Regions from separate parts of the Homo sapiens genome. Here all the other regions are linked to region 1. The links are contacts of gene promoters, found by promoter capture Hi-C in human tissues and cell types (Jung and others, 2019). All regions are on one chromosome and are shown on one strand. The core of a region is centred on a gene start or on the middle of the fragment in contact, and the rest is flanking DNA. Distances in the headings are between cores, read along the strand shown.

Region 1 (4,888 bases), core at 2,389-4,888:
CACTCTGTTGTGCTATCAAATAGTAGATCTTATTCTTTCTATTTTTTGTACCCTCTCGTCTTTTTATATTAAAAAATAATCTTTATCTCTGTAAGCTTCATCAGTGATTTTCCAATGAAATTTAGGATCTTCTCTATACCCTGAATTGCCTTACTTTCTCCCCACTTCCTTGTCTTATTCAAATGCAGATTTCATTAATGATTTCCAGATCAATGATAGTTCAGAAAGCAAGCAAGTCAAAGTGACCAAGGGCATGGCCTGAAAACTGTTCTAAGAGAGGAATTTACAGAACAACTATTAAATGATGTCAATAGGATTGTATTAGTCCGTTTTCATACGGCTATAAAGAACTGCCTGAGACTGGGTAATTTATAAAGGAAAGAGGTTTAATTGACTCACAGTTCAGCACAACTGGGCAGGCCTCAGGAAACTTACAATCATGGTAGAAGGTGAAGGGGAAGCAAAGCACCTTCCTCACAAGGCGTCAGGAAGAAGTGCCAAGCAAAGGGGGAAAAGCCCCTTGTAAAACTACCAGAACCTGTGAGAACTCAATCACTATCACAAGAACAGCATGAGGGAACCGCCCCTCGTGATTCAATTACCTCCACCTGGTCTCTCCCTTGACACATGGGGATTATGGGTGTTACAATTCAAGATGAGATTTGGGTGGGGACACAAAGCCTAACCATATCAAGGATCAAGTGGTGGGTTGAAACTAACAGGATGAGATATATCAGATACAAACACAGGGTCCCATATTTGGGTTAAAATTCATAAATGATCAAAGCACAGGATGACAGATAATATAGGTCATTTTAGATTATTGTGGCCAACAGATCACAGTGGGTAGTGTTATGACGAAGGGAGGGTCACAGTTACTACAGTTACAGATGGATTCTGGGTACAACATTTGCACTAAAGTGCCTTTGCCAAGGGAGGCAACAGTCTCGACATCCTGTGGCCTGATCTACTTCAGGGACTGTGTCTTGTTCAGAGCATCACATTTGAAGAGAACTTTGACCAAGGGGAATATGCCAGAAAAGGAAGTTCGGGATGCTGAGGATCTTAGGAACTATGTCTAAACAAGATTCATTCACAGAAGTGGGAATGTCTATTTGGCAAAAAGAAAATACTACTTACATGGCTGTTGGAAGACCAGCAATCACAAACTCAGTTTTTCAAAAGGCTGGGCAGAAACACAGATGAAAGAAACAGGCCATGTTTAAGAAAAGATAAAAGCTCACGCATGATATGCCACTAGAGAATCACCTAGCCTCAGTGTTGGCGGGGAGGCCTGGGGAGTCTTGATGTCTGAGAGTGACATTCTGATGATCACTGTCATGTGTAAATGTTGGCCTAAAGCTGCCAATATTTTTGATTTAAGAGAAGCAAGAAATGCAAATTTTTATGCAGCATGTCTCAATTTTTAATTTTGGCAACTATTACAAAATGTTTAAAGAGACTCTGTGCAGCCCAAATATAACATATCTATGGGCTGATGGCAGCCCAGCGTTGCCAGTTCACAGGGTCTACAAGAGATGATTCTTAGTTTCAACAGGGTGCAGTGCTGAAACGCGTGCACAGTAGATTTTGCTTCGGTTATGAAAGAACTTCCAAATATTTATGATTCATAGCCAGAGAAAAGGCTCTCTATCCAGGTTCTGAACAATAGGAAATCATCAAGAGGATATTGGATGACAATATATGAAAGATGTTATTTGAGAAAGGATTCTCTCCTGAGGCATAGATGTTGAACCAAATTCTATTAGTTATGCTTTTACAGCAAGATAGTGGTTTACAGCTTACAAAAGGCTTGTACATCCTCTCATATTAAAAGTTATTAGAACAGTCCTTTGAAGTAGAAAAGTAGGCATTTCTATTTTACAAACGAGTTGGCCGAGTATCTGAGATAGTAGATAACTCATAGAAGGTCATCCGGGAAACGGGGCAGCAGAACTGGGATCGAATGACTCTGGTCATCCAACTCCAAATGCAAAAGTCTTTCTGCTGCTGCTTCCTAGTTAAACTCTAAGGGTCTAAGACTCCATTCCTAGTTATGGTCTCAACTACATTTGCTCATTGCTGTGAGGGGTCAACCCACCTCCCGGAGTCCTCTCCTGCACATTCTCATGTTCCTGAAAGGCTTTTCTGTCCCTTCCACTACTCCCTGTAAGCTCCTGTGCTTCACAATTTCTTGTTGAATTTTTTCTAATCTGACTCTATCAGTTATGGGAATGTTCCCTCAATTCTTAGTGCTCCAAACCGGACTTGCTCTTGGCTTGTATTTGTCCAAAATATTTGTCTTCTCTATGTTTTCTACATGTTTGTCTTATAAGGACAAAAACCTGCCTTAGTTTATCCATGAACAAAGCCACGCATGCTAGTGGACACACACACACATGCGCGTGCGCGCGCACACACACACACACACACATACACACAGAGACTTTGTATGTGAGTAATGAATCATCAAATCATCATAATTTCTGGACTTGTATTAATAAGTCGGCCAGGAGGAAAAGAATCTGCTGTCAATCATGGCTTCTGGTTCTCACAGTCATCTCTACTTTCTTCCAGCAAGTTTGGTTCTGTCAAAAACCAGCTGTCAGCCTTGTTCCTGCATGCCCAATGCAGAAGAGTCAGTAAAGAAGATTTGGTTCTCTGTATTTCAGGGGCATCAATGCCAGGTTGAAATATGCCATTCTGGCCCAGCTCAGTGGCTCACACGTGTAATCCCAGCACTTTGGAAGGCCAAAGCGGGTGGATTGCTTGAGCTCAGGAGTTCGAGACCAGCCTGGGCAAGAGGCTGAGGTGGGAGGATGACCTGAGCCCGGGAGGTCAAGGCTGCAGCGAGCTGTGATCGTGCCACTGCACTCGAGCCAGGGCGTTGGAGTGAGACCCTGTCAAAAAAAAAAAAAAAAAGGAAGGAAAAAAGGAAGGAAGGAAGGGAGGGAGGGAAGATGCCATTCTTAGATTGAAGTGGACTTTATCTGGGCAGAACACACACACACATACACACATGCACACACACATTGTGGAGAAATTGCTGACTAAGCAAAGCTTCCAAATGACTTAGTTTGGCTAAAATGTAGGCTTTTAAAAATGTGAGCACTGCCAAGGGTTTTTCCTTGTTGACCCATGGATCCATCAAGTGCAAACATTTTCTAATGCACTATATTTAAGCCTGTGCAGCTAGATGTCATTCAACATGAAATACATTATTACAACTTGCATCTGTCTAAAATCTTGCATCTAAAATGAGAGACAAAAAATCTATAAAAATGGAAAACATGCATAGAAATATGTGAGGGAGGAAAAAATTACCCCCAAGAATGTTAGTGCACGCAGTCACACAGGGAGAAGACTATTTTTGTTTTGTTTTGATTGTTTTGTTTTGTTTTGGTTGTTTTGTTTTGGTGACCTAACTGGTCAAATGACCTATTAAGAATATTTCATAGAACGAATGTTCCGATGCTCTAATCTCTCTAGACAAGGTTCATATTTGTATGGGTTACTTATTCTCTCTTTGTTGACTAAGTCAATAATCAGAATCAGCAGGTTTGCAGTCAGATTGGCAGGGATAAGCAGCCTAGCTCAGGAGAAGTGAGTATAAAAGCCCCAGGCTGGGAGCAGCCATCACAGAAGTCCACTCATTCTTGGCAGGATGGCTTCTCATCGTCTGCTCCTCCTCTGCCTTGCTGGACTGGTATTTGTGTCTGAGGCTGGCCCTACGGTGAGTGTTTCTGTGACATCCCATTCCTACATTTAAGATTCACGCTAAATGAAGTAGAAGTGACTCCTTCCAGCTTTGCCAACCAGCTTTTATTACTAGGGCAAGGGTACCCAGCATCTATTTTTAATATAATTAATTCAAACTTCAAAAAGAATGAAGTTCCACTGAGCTTACTGAGCTGGGACTTGAACTCTGAGCATTCTACCTCATTGCTTTGGTGCATTAGGTTTGTAATATCTGGTACCTCTGTTTCCTCAGATAGATGATAGAAATAAAGATATGATATTAAGGAAGCTGTTAATACTGAATTTTCAGAAAAGTATCCCTCCATAAAATGTATTTGGGGGACAAACTGCAGGAGATTATATTCTGGCCCTATAGTTATTCAAAACGTATTTATTGATTAATCTTTAAAAGGCTTAGTGAACAATATTCTAGTCAGATATCTAATTCTTAAATCCTCTAGAAGAATTAACTAATACTATAAAATGGGTCTGGATGTAGTTCTGACATTATTTTATAACAACTGGTAAGAGGGAGTGACTATAGCAACAACTAAAATGATCTCAGGAAAACCTGTTTGGCCCTATGTATGGTACATTACATCTTTTCAGTAATTCCACTCAAATGGAGACTTTTAACAAAGCAACTGTTCTCAGGGGACCTATTTTCTCCCTTAAAATTCATTATACACATCCCTGGTTGATAGCAGTGTGTCTGGAGGCAGAAACCATTCTTGCTTTGGAAACAATTACGTCTGTGTTATACTGAGTAGGGAAGCTCATTAATTGTCGACACTTACGTTCCTGATAATGGGATCAGTGTGTAATTCTTGTTTCGCTCCAGATTTCTAATACCACAAAGAATAAATCCTTTCACTCTGATCAATTTTGTTAACTTCTCACGTGTCTTCTCTACACCCAGGGCACCGGTGAATCCAAGTGTCCTCTGATGGTCAAAGTTCTAGATGCTGTCCGAGGCAGTCCTGCCATCAATGTGGCCGTGCATGTGTTCAGAAAGGCTGCTGATGACACCTGGGAGCCATTTGCCTCTGGGTAAGTTGCCAAAGAACCCTCCCACAGGACTTGGTTTTATCTTCCCGTTTGCCCCTCACTTGGTAGAGAGAGGCTCACATCATCTGCTAAAGAATTTACA
Region 2 (4,888 bases), core at 1,680-4,179, 200 kb after region 1:
ATATGTTGAATCCCTAATCCCTAATGTGACTGTATTTGGAGATAAGGACTCCAAAGAGGTAATTAAGGTTAAATGAAGTCATTACCTCATTTTGCTCATACTGCCATTAAATGGCAGTCTTTTTAGCCTAATGTCACAACCTGCCTTAGACCCAAAGGATAGTTGCATATAAAGCCTTCCCTTTCTATTCCTCCTGATTTGGTGCCATCCTTCGTGGTGCTGTGCCTGGGTTGCTACAGGAGTATATAGAAACCGCACACCACCACTGTTCTATCCTTTCACCCCCACGACTAGTGTCCTTGTAAGAGGAGGAAGCCCCAGGGGTGCACACTCACAGACGAAAGACCATGTGAGGACACAGTGCGAAAGCAGCCACCTGCGAAGCAAGGAGAAAGGCCTCAGGAGAATCTAACTGGGCCTGAGCTTTGATCTTGGACTTGCAGCCTTCATCACTGAGAGAAAATAAGCTTCTTTGAAGCCATCCAGTCTGCAGTATTTTGTAATGGCAGCCCTAGGAGACTAACACAGAGGGCATGGCCCAGGATCTCACCTTCGTCTTTGCAGGACTAAAATCTAATTTTGTTTGTTTACATGATAGATAATCATTCCAGAACTGACTCATATTTACCAAACTCATAAAAATTTGCTGTGTAGACCAGAAGAATAATTTGATTAACATAGCAAAATAAAGCCTCCAGGAGAACTGGAGCGCACTCCGTCGATGCCAGTGCATTCTCTCCCTGTTGGCAAATATTTGGGAAGCTAAATTATTATCTGAAGGTCACTTGGTGAGCATGGTTTTAAAAGAAAGAGAAGTGGAGAGTATTGAAAGACATTGCTGTAACTCAATGCTGCCAGTGACATGGGCCTGTGACCACAAAATAGGTTTACATCCTCTTTGCTTATTCAACTTATTATGACTCTAACACCCACTGGTCCACTTCCTTCAAAGCGCCTTGCCAGTTATTTGTGGGAGTTTCTCTAGGTCTTGCCTCAAGGGAACTATGCCACAGATCCCTGTTGCTTCTTAACCCTCAACACTGACCATCTTTGTAAAATAGCCACCTGGTGGGGACAGCTGTCCCTCATGATGCCCACTCTAATGCTTCCACTCTGCCCTCAGTGTGGGGACCCTGTTGCCACTAATTCCCCGGAGGACAGTTCAGACCAGACAGTGGCTTTTATTAATTTTTAGTAAAGTAGGAAGACAGAAAATGATGTGGAAACTATCTTATAACTGCTACTGACCATAACCTCAAGAGTTCCTGGAGAGCTTGCAATAGACCTCCTCATAATAAGAGTAGGCCTGACTCCCCAGGCACCTCTAGGCATCCCCACAAATTAAGTTCAGACCCAATTGCACCCGAGGGGATGTCCTCTCCCACTCCGTCCTACCTCAGGATGACTGGCAGTAGAAACAGGTATTCCCCGCAGGGGAGGAACCCTCACACTCACCATGTGATGTGGCTTCACGGCTCAGACACTGCAATAGCAAAAGCCAACACTACCCTCAGTCTTAAAACCTCCCTTTTCTTGACACTTCCACCTTCTAAAGATGCCAAGTATATGGATGTGACTGTGAAATGTGCCCAGATAAATTTTAAGGAGATACAATATTGACTCCTGAGTGTTAAACCAATAAATTACAACATAACAGATGTGATTCACCCTGTTCAAAGGTTACTTTAGAGGTTATACTTTCTCCCAGGCCATAAACAGGAATAACACATAAGGGCAACTGATGCTTGATTGGACACAAAAGGAGACTAGCTTTATCACTGCTATGGACACATCGGAGACAGAATAGGTGAGCAGAGGATGTTGTCTATGTGACGGTAATAGATGGGTATTGGATAATGAGAAGCCATTCATCAGAGCCCAGGAAGAAGAAACCCAGAGCCTGGGAAGAAGAAACACTGAATCTGAGAAACTCAGTCACCAGAGAGTACTTTTCTGGGAAGCTGTGGTTTATGGAAAAGAAGGAATGCAGGTTGGAAAAGCAAAAAGAGAGCAGAGGACAGCTGCTTCCTAATTCCACAGGTAGCTCCCACCTGGGCTATCTCTAGTGTATGGCTCTTGAGACTTCATATTTATTTAGATTCTGCTTTACAGTTTACAAAGGGCTTCATATGTCTCTTATATGCTGAGGAAAGATAGTGGTGTTATATTGCTGAGGGAAACTGAGGCAAGATTTTAGTACTAGTAGAACTATAGAACTGATCTAGCACCCAGATCTTCAGCTTCCAATTCAAAGACATTTCCCCTCTAGGATTGCTGATCCAAACCAGAAGCTTGTCTCCGCAGCTTTGTCTGCCCTTTCTTGTCAAGCCTCCTCATGCCATTGCACTTTCCTACTTGCCTTGAACACCTTCCCTTTATATTCCTCCTGATTTGGTGCCATCCTATGCCTGGGTTGTTACAGAGAGTATATAGAAACAGCACAAGGCCATTGTTCTATCCTTTCACCCTTTGAGATGCAAGCACTATTTATCTTGGAATTTTTCATTTGGGTAATAACTAGACAAAGAATTACAGTACCTACTCCTTTCCTCCTTCAGCAAGGAGTCCTCAGGCAAGGTAACACTACTGGGGCCAGGTTCTCAGAAGAGAAGACTGTGAGAAGGAGGAGGAGGAAGAGGAGGAGGAGGAAGAGAGGAGGAGGAAGAGGAGGAAGAGAGGAGGAGGAAGTGGAGGAGGAGGAAGAGGAGGAGGAGGAAGAGGAGGAAGAGGAGGAGGAGGAGGAGGAATAACAGCCATTTATCATTCTTTGTATTGTTAGCTGGTGAAGCAAAATGGATACACTTTGTCTCTACAAACACACATTACAGCCAATGAGACATAAAAAAGGTGAAAATGGGCTACATTTTAAAAACATTATTTGCCTTGCATATTTTTATGAGTCTCCTTGACCCTGAAACTGAGGAAAAAATAACCTTCAAAGCAGAGAAGGGAGGTAGTGAAAGCAAACCAAACCAGAATACGAGATGAACATCATTGACATCAGAAACCATCTGCTGGTCTTTGTTGTTAAGAAAAACCCGTTAGCCTGGTTTAATGGGGACAGATCAGACAGCATGAGGTGGATTGTGCTGAAAGAAAACATGCAACTATCCCCCTATCCTTTGGGTATAAGGCAGGTTCTGACATTAGGCTAAAAAGACTGGCATTTAATGGCCCTGCATTTGCATAATGACCTTCCTTCTGTAGCTTGTGATATCTCAGCTAATTGCTTTAGAACACTTCTGCTACATCTGGGGTTTTTTTGTTTTTGTTTTTGTTGTTTGAGACCAGCTTTTCACTTGTTTCCCAGGCTGGAGTGCAATGGCGTGATCTCGGCTCACTGCAGCCTCCGCCTCCTGGGTTCAAGAGATTCTCCTGCCTCAGCCTCCCGGGTAGCTGGGACTACAGGTGCCCACCACCACATCCAGCTAATTTTTATTTTTTATTTTTGGGGGTTTTTTTTGTTTGTTTGTTTTTGAGATGGAGTCTCACTCTGTTGCCCAGGCTAGAGTGCAGTGGCATGATCTTGGCTCACTGCAACCTCCAGCTCCCGGATTCAAGCATTTCTCCTGCCTCGGTCTCCCAAGTAGCCAGGAGTACAGGTGCGTGCCACCACGCCTGGCTAATTTTTTGTATTTTAGTAGAGATGGGATTTCACCATGTTGGCCAGGATGGTCTCCATCTCCTGTCCTTGTGATCCACCCACCTCAGCCTCCCAAAATGCTGGGATTACAGGCGTGAGCCACCACGCCTCGTCCATCTGTTAGGTTTTACTACTTTCTAATCCATTCAAAATCCTCACTACCGGCCAAGTCCCAAGCCACTTAAAATTTTTGGAACATGAGGTTGTATGAACCAGAATTCATATGATTCACCTGGTGAGATATATGTGATGTGCTATCAGAAAGAAGGTAATGCCCAGAGAGAACACAAAGTCATAAAAAAAAAATCCTGATTTCTATGTCCTCTTATGTCACAGGGATGAGCTTTGAACAAAGCTTTGTTCCTTCCCATTGAGCTAGAGGAATCTTCCTGTGGATAGAATCTGTGATTCTATGAGTCAGGCAGTTCTCAAACTCCTCTGTGTAACCTGTAACTGAAGAATAAGGAGGTTCATAAATTTGGAAAGGAGAGCTTAATTTCTCAGCAAGACTTGCAGCCTGTATGGTGGCAATTCTGACAGGCTGGGAAGCACAGCCTTCAGTCAGAAGCCAGAAACAGACACTTTGAGGGAGGGGGAAGGGGAACAGGAATTTATGCAAGCAGGGTGGACAATTAGCCATAGATAAATATATCTTAGTTCTTCAGGTAATTCTGATATGAATACCCCCCACATTTAAAAAGCTGTAGGAGGAGTCATGAATATTTATGAGAGGAGAAACGTGCATGTGCAGCTGAGCTTCATGCCCCTTCATGGGTCCCAAAAAATGTCGGCATTGGCACGATCCGATCTTGGCCCTCTAACATCAAAAAGTAAAGTAGAGGACACAAAAACCCTCACTATGCATCCTCTGTGGACTGGCCAGAACCAATCTGTGGTAGGTGGTCTATCATTAGGAAGGAAGCCTGATTGGTTGTGGTGTCAACACTGCAAAAGGGAAGGGCAGCATCTGGCTGTTGGCTGATATCTGCAGTGGTGTCTTTCAGAAAGGCTGGTTTCTGGCCAGTCAAGGTGGCTCACACCTGTAATTTGAGCACTTGGAGAGGCTGAGCAAGAAGGATGGCTCGGGCCTAGGAGTTTGAGACTAGCCTGGGCAACATGGCAAGACCCTGTCTTGTATTTTTTAAAAACTTTAAATAAATACATAAAAATTTAAACATTTTTTAAAAATTAAAAACCAAAAAGGCTAGTTTCTGTTTAGCCATCAGGGAAGAAAGCCCTAATGAC
Region 3 (4,888 bases), core at 1,742-4,241, 170 kb after region 1:
GGCAGTTTCAGTGAGAAAATAACAATAAAAAGTGAAGTGGGGGGAGAAATGTATTAGTTCGTGTAATGAAAAAGTTGAGAAATCCAGAAGTAGCAATCACTTTAGGCATTGCTGGATCCTAGAGGTTCAACCACCATCACAAGTACTTAACATCCCTCTCCACGTATATATTGCCCAGCTATACATTCCTCAGTTTTAACTTCATTTTCAGTCAGCTCTTTCTACAGAGTAACATCCTACCTGAAGCTTATTCTGCTAATTTAGCAACTGAAGGATGAAGTGCTTCACTTTCCCAACAGTTCCTGCAAAACAACCCTAGGATTGAGTCTCATTGCAGTTAGTTGGTCTGAACCAATCACTGGGATCAGGGGGATGGAAAATGATACTAATCAAACCTGAGTCACTTGCCTCATCCTGCACTTGTCAGGTAAATGGGGCAGAAGGAGGTAAACCTCCCATCCCGCCCACCACCCAAACCACTGGGACCTAGAAAGGTATTAGGAGGTGTTCCCCTCTGAAGCCACACAGCCCACTGCCATTGGTGCAGATGAGAGGAGCTGGAAAATTGCTTTGGAAGTTGAGCCATTGCCACCTTTTTTTGGTCCAAGCTTGCAGTTTCTTGGGCAATGTAACTATACAGTTTGAAATCAGGCAACTCAGGCAGGCGCGGTGGCTCACACCTGTAATCCCAGCACTTTAGGTGGCTGGGGTGGGGGATCACCTGAGGTCAGGAGTTCAAGACCAGCCTGGCCAACATGGTGAAACCCTGTCTCTACTGAAAATACAAAATTAGACGGGTATGGTGGTGCACACCTGTAATCCCAGCAACTTGGGAGGCTGAAGCAAGAGATTCACTTGAACCCAGGAGGCGGACGTTGCAGTGAGCTGAGATCACACCATTGCACTCCAGCCTGGGCAACAAGAGCGAAACTCCATCTCAAAAAAGAGAAAAAAAAAAAATTAGGCAACTCTACTGACCGATGGCCCAAGTCAAATATGTTTGGTCACAGTCCTAGATTCCAGACCCTTTATTGCGGGATTTTTGTCTCAGCACAGGCCCTAATGCTCTGCTATCCCACCTAGTCCTCAACCTAGTGTTGTCCATGCTGGCTGCCCCAGGGCAGAACCAGCACCCTCAAAGCACAGATAACTTGGCCCTTGCCCCTTGGTTATGTCTGATGGGTGACTCTTTACAATGGAGACCATTGTCACCCTTCTCAGGCTGCTAAATGTCTGCAAGATGTTTGGGAGAAGCCTAAAAGAACAGGAATGAAGCTTCTCTCTGACTCCTATCTTATCTTCTGATATGTTTTCCACACCCTAGGCTTTGTGAGAAGTAATATTAGTTGATGACAGAGAACCCCACTTTTCAATTCAGCGAAGCTCAGAGACGTCTAATCTAACTTTCTATTATTTTATTTATTTAATTTTTTTGAGACAGAGTTTCATTCTGTTGCTCAGGCTAGAATGCAGTGGCACCATCTTGGCTCACTGCAACCTCCACCTCCCAGGTTCAAGCGATTCTCCTGCCTCAGCCTCCCAAGTAGCTGGGACTACAGGCACATGCCAAGACACTTGGCTAATTTCTGTGTTTTTAGTAGAGATGGGGTTTCACCATGCTGGCCACACTGACCTGGCCTCAGGTAATCCCCCAGCCTCAGCCTCCCAAAGTGCTGGGATTACAGGTTTGAGGCACCACGCCCAGCCAGGGACATCTAAGTTTCTAAGTTGATGGCTGTAGGAAGAAAGGGCCTCCTGTAGCAAAGCTGTCTTTTCTTCCCTTGCTGCTTTCAGATTGCCCATTTCTAACAAAACTTGTTTTTCTGGTAGGACCTAACCGAAGGCTACAAAATAAATTCATCTTATTCCATCAGCCTGACATTTTTCTACCATCTCTCTTTAACTTTCAACTTCAGTAGGCTCATGGTCAGAGCACCAAGAGAAAATAGAATAGTTTCACCACTGCCTTGCTATTACTGCACAACAAAATTGCCAGCTTCCTGCCCAAAATCGAGAGGTCCTCACTGCCCCTATCCCATCTTGACTGAGCCACGTCTCTATTTGACAATCTGCAACATGTACTCTCTCACCTCCAGATACGAATTTAGAAAGTGTTCAGAGTCTTGTATTAATTTGTTCAGGCTGTCATAACAAAGTACCATAGACTGGGTGGCTTAAACAAAAGAGACTGATTTCCTCACAATTCTGGAGGCTGGAAGTCCAAGACAACCGTGTTGGCAGGGTGGGTTTCTCCCAGGGCCTCACTCCTTTGCTTGCAGATGGCCACCTCATTGCTTCATCCTCACATGGCCAACTCCCATTCTGTGTGTGTCGGTGTCCTAATCTCCTTTTATAAGGACACCAGTTATAGTGGATTAGGGCCTACCCTGATGAGCTTGTTTTAACTTTATCTCTTTAAAGATCCTATGGAAATACAGTCGCATTTTGAGCTACTGTAGTAGGTACTGTTAAGACTTCAACATATGAATTAAGGAGACACAGTTCAGCCCCTAGGAAGTCTTTCAGTGACAAAAATGCCACTCAAACTGGCTTGAGCAAAAAGAAGGAATGCGTTGTCTCCCATAACTGAAAAGTCAGTAGGGATTGGGCTAGGCTGCATGCAGGGTCATATAACGTCAGCACGAGCCATTTGTCTCTTTTGATTATATTTTTGCGGATTGGCTCTTTCTGTGGTACAGTGATGGTTGGAAACAGCTCCATGTGTACAAACTGTTAGTTGGGCAATGTTATTTGATATAGATTCACTTTACATATAGTTCCAGAAAAGGCTTAGGGTGAAAACTCATTGACCTAACTGGAGTCACATGTCCAACAATGAACCAGTCCATATGGCCAGAGGAATGAAATATATCAATTGCCCATACCTGAATATCAAGCCCACATCTAAAGAAAAAGCATCAGCCCATCCAAGCTAAGTGAGCTCAGACAAAAGGCAGTAATGTATAGAGGTTAGCATCAAAGAGTCTGGAATTTGACCCCTGGATTCAAATCCACACTGACCAACTGTGTGACCTTGGGCAAGTTACTTAACCTCAATTTTGTAAAGCAGGACTATAGGAAATCCAACACCTATAATAACACGCCTCTGTATTTCTTACTGTGCAAGATAACAATGTACTTTCACTTTTTGTTTTTTCTTATTTTTTTTTTTTTTTTTGAGACAGAGTCTTGCTCTGTCACCCAGGCTGGAGTGCAGTGGCATGATCTCGGCTCACTGCAAACTCTGCCTCCCGGCTTCATGCCATTCTCCTGCCTCAGCCTCCCGAGTAGCTGGGACTACAGATGCCCACCACCATGCCCGGCATTTTTTTTTTTTTTTTTGTATTTTTAGTAGAGACGGGGTTTCACTGTGTTAGCCAGGATGATCTCAATCTCCTGACCTGGTGATCCGCCCACCTTGGCCTCCCAAAGTGCTGGGATTACAGGCGTGAGCCACCGCGCCCGGCCTACTTTCACTTTTTCTTGACCACAAGTCAAAAGTCATTTTATCCCAAAATGCCCTTAATCAGAAAAAAAACAACAACAACTTTGGAGCCTTCTTGATATTCCTAACAGGAGAAGAAAAAGCAAGGAAAGGAAGAAAAAATATATCCATTAGAATGTTTTTGACAGCAAGTAATAGAATACCTGCGAAAGTGGTATAACAATAAAAATATTGGTGTCTCACTCACCAAGAAGTCAAGAGGAGGGCTACCCCAGAGGTCACACAGTCTTAGCAATGTCAGAGCTCTGACTCCACATCCCTGCCATTTCTTGGGCCTTCCCCCATGCAACGTGACAGCTGCAGAAAATCAAGTATAATGTCCTCTGATGACACTGTTCAAACTTGAAAGGAAAATAGATTTCTCTTTGTAACATGTTCTTCTTTTAGATGAGAGGAAGACATTTCTAGAAGACCTCCTCTTACATTTTCTCTGTTGCATGCCCACCCCTAGATCAGTCACTGGCAAGGAGAATAGAATTACCACATTAGCTGAGACCAGCCAGGGCATATGGCACTCCAGACAAAATTGGTGTCCTGTTAAGAGGAAACAGGAGTGGCAGATGAGGAGGTAACTGATGGTGTCCGCTAATGACACAGAATAAGAAAAGAAAGGAATGGAGAGATAAATCAAAAGAACCAAGAAAAACAGTGATATACAAAGGAAGCAGGTGGATGAGACCACATGTGCTGCGGAGGAAGCATAGCATCCTCTCCCTCAGACACTCTTCCTTATCCTCTGTCATCCATCAATTTCTCAGTAGCATTGGGGGCATTTATGATTCACACCAAAGGCAGCACAGCACAGTGATACAGATAAAGCCCTGGATTAGCATACTAGCTGTCTATTGCTATGCTGGGGCTCAGAAAATAGTACCCCAAAATAAAGGACTTAGATGCAACCTCAGAAGCAAAAATTTTTCTTTGTTCTTCTCCTCCCCTCCTGTCTCTCAGTCCCATCCTCTCCCGAGGCTAGCCATAGAAACTAGAATTCCTCTTCCCCAAGGTGGGTAATAGAAACCAGAGCCCCTTTTGGTCAAAGTCAGCCATAAAGCCTGAAAATATCACTCTAACTTTCCCTCCATCTTTCCATGTAAAAACTGGTCCTAGGGAAATTACCTGACCTAAGTTTTTTGACTGTAGGTCCTTAAGATCTCCATTCCAGAGAGGGCCCTGCCCCACACCCAGGAGGAAGGAATGCTGCTCAGAGAGGCCAAGAAGAATCTAGACGGGCAGGCCTTGTGGGCTTTCCCCACTCAGTCTATTAACCTTAGATCAAACCCTTTGTGTCCAATCATATTCCCATATGGATGTCTACATTTTGTTGAACCTAAGCATAAAAATGGACAATGTCTCCTGTACCTTTGGGTCTTCATTCTGAAGGCT

What was found. The method cuts DNA at HindIII sites, captures the fragments that hold promoters and counts their contacts. A contact is called where the count stands out against the background at its distance.
Region 2: a contact is called between a fragment that was not itself captured here and the fragment with the promoter of TTR in region 1, in 4 of the 25 tissues and cell types used here (dorsolateral prefrontal cortex, heart left ventricle, small bowel and 1 more).
Region 3: a contact is called between a fragment that was not itself captured here and the fragment with the promoter of TTR in region 1, in 4 of the 25 tissues and cell types used here (IMR-90 fibroblasts, aorta, lymphoblastoid cells and 1 more).

Annotation. Positions count from the first base shown.
Region 1 is chr18:31,588,239-31,593,126 of GRCh38, forward strand. It overlaps TTR (transthyretin), which reads left to right and starts at 3,639. Exons shown (of 4, transcript NM_000371.4): 1 at 3,639-3,733; 2 at 4,658-4,788. The coding sequence starts at 3,665. The HindIII fragment of the contact is 7,126 bases long and covers 1,578-4,888 here.
Region 2 is chr18:31,791,041-31,795,928 of GRCh38, forward strand. No RefSeq gene overlaps it. Among named protein-coding and RNA genes, the nearest start is that of SLC25A52, 33 kb to the left of the region's middle. RefSeq lists an enhancer at 1,531-1,590. The HindIII fragment of the contact is 3,101 bases long and covers 1,380-4,480 here.
Region 3 is chr18:31,763,128-31,768,015 of GRCh38, forward strand. No RefSeq gene overlaps it. Among named protein-coding and RNA genes, the nearest start is that of SLC25A52, 4.7 kb to the left of the region's middle. The HindIII fragment of the contact is 6,923 bases long and covers 1-4,888 here.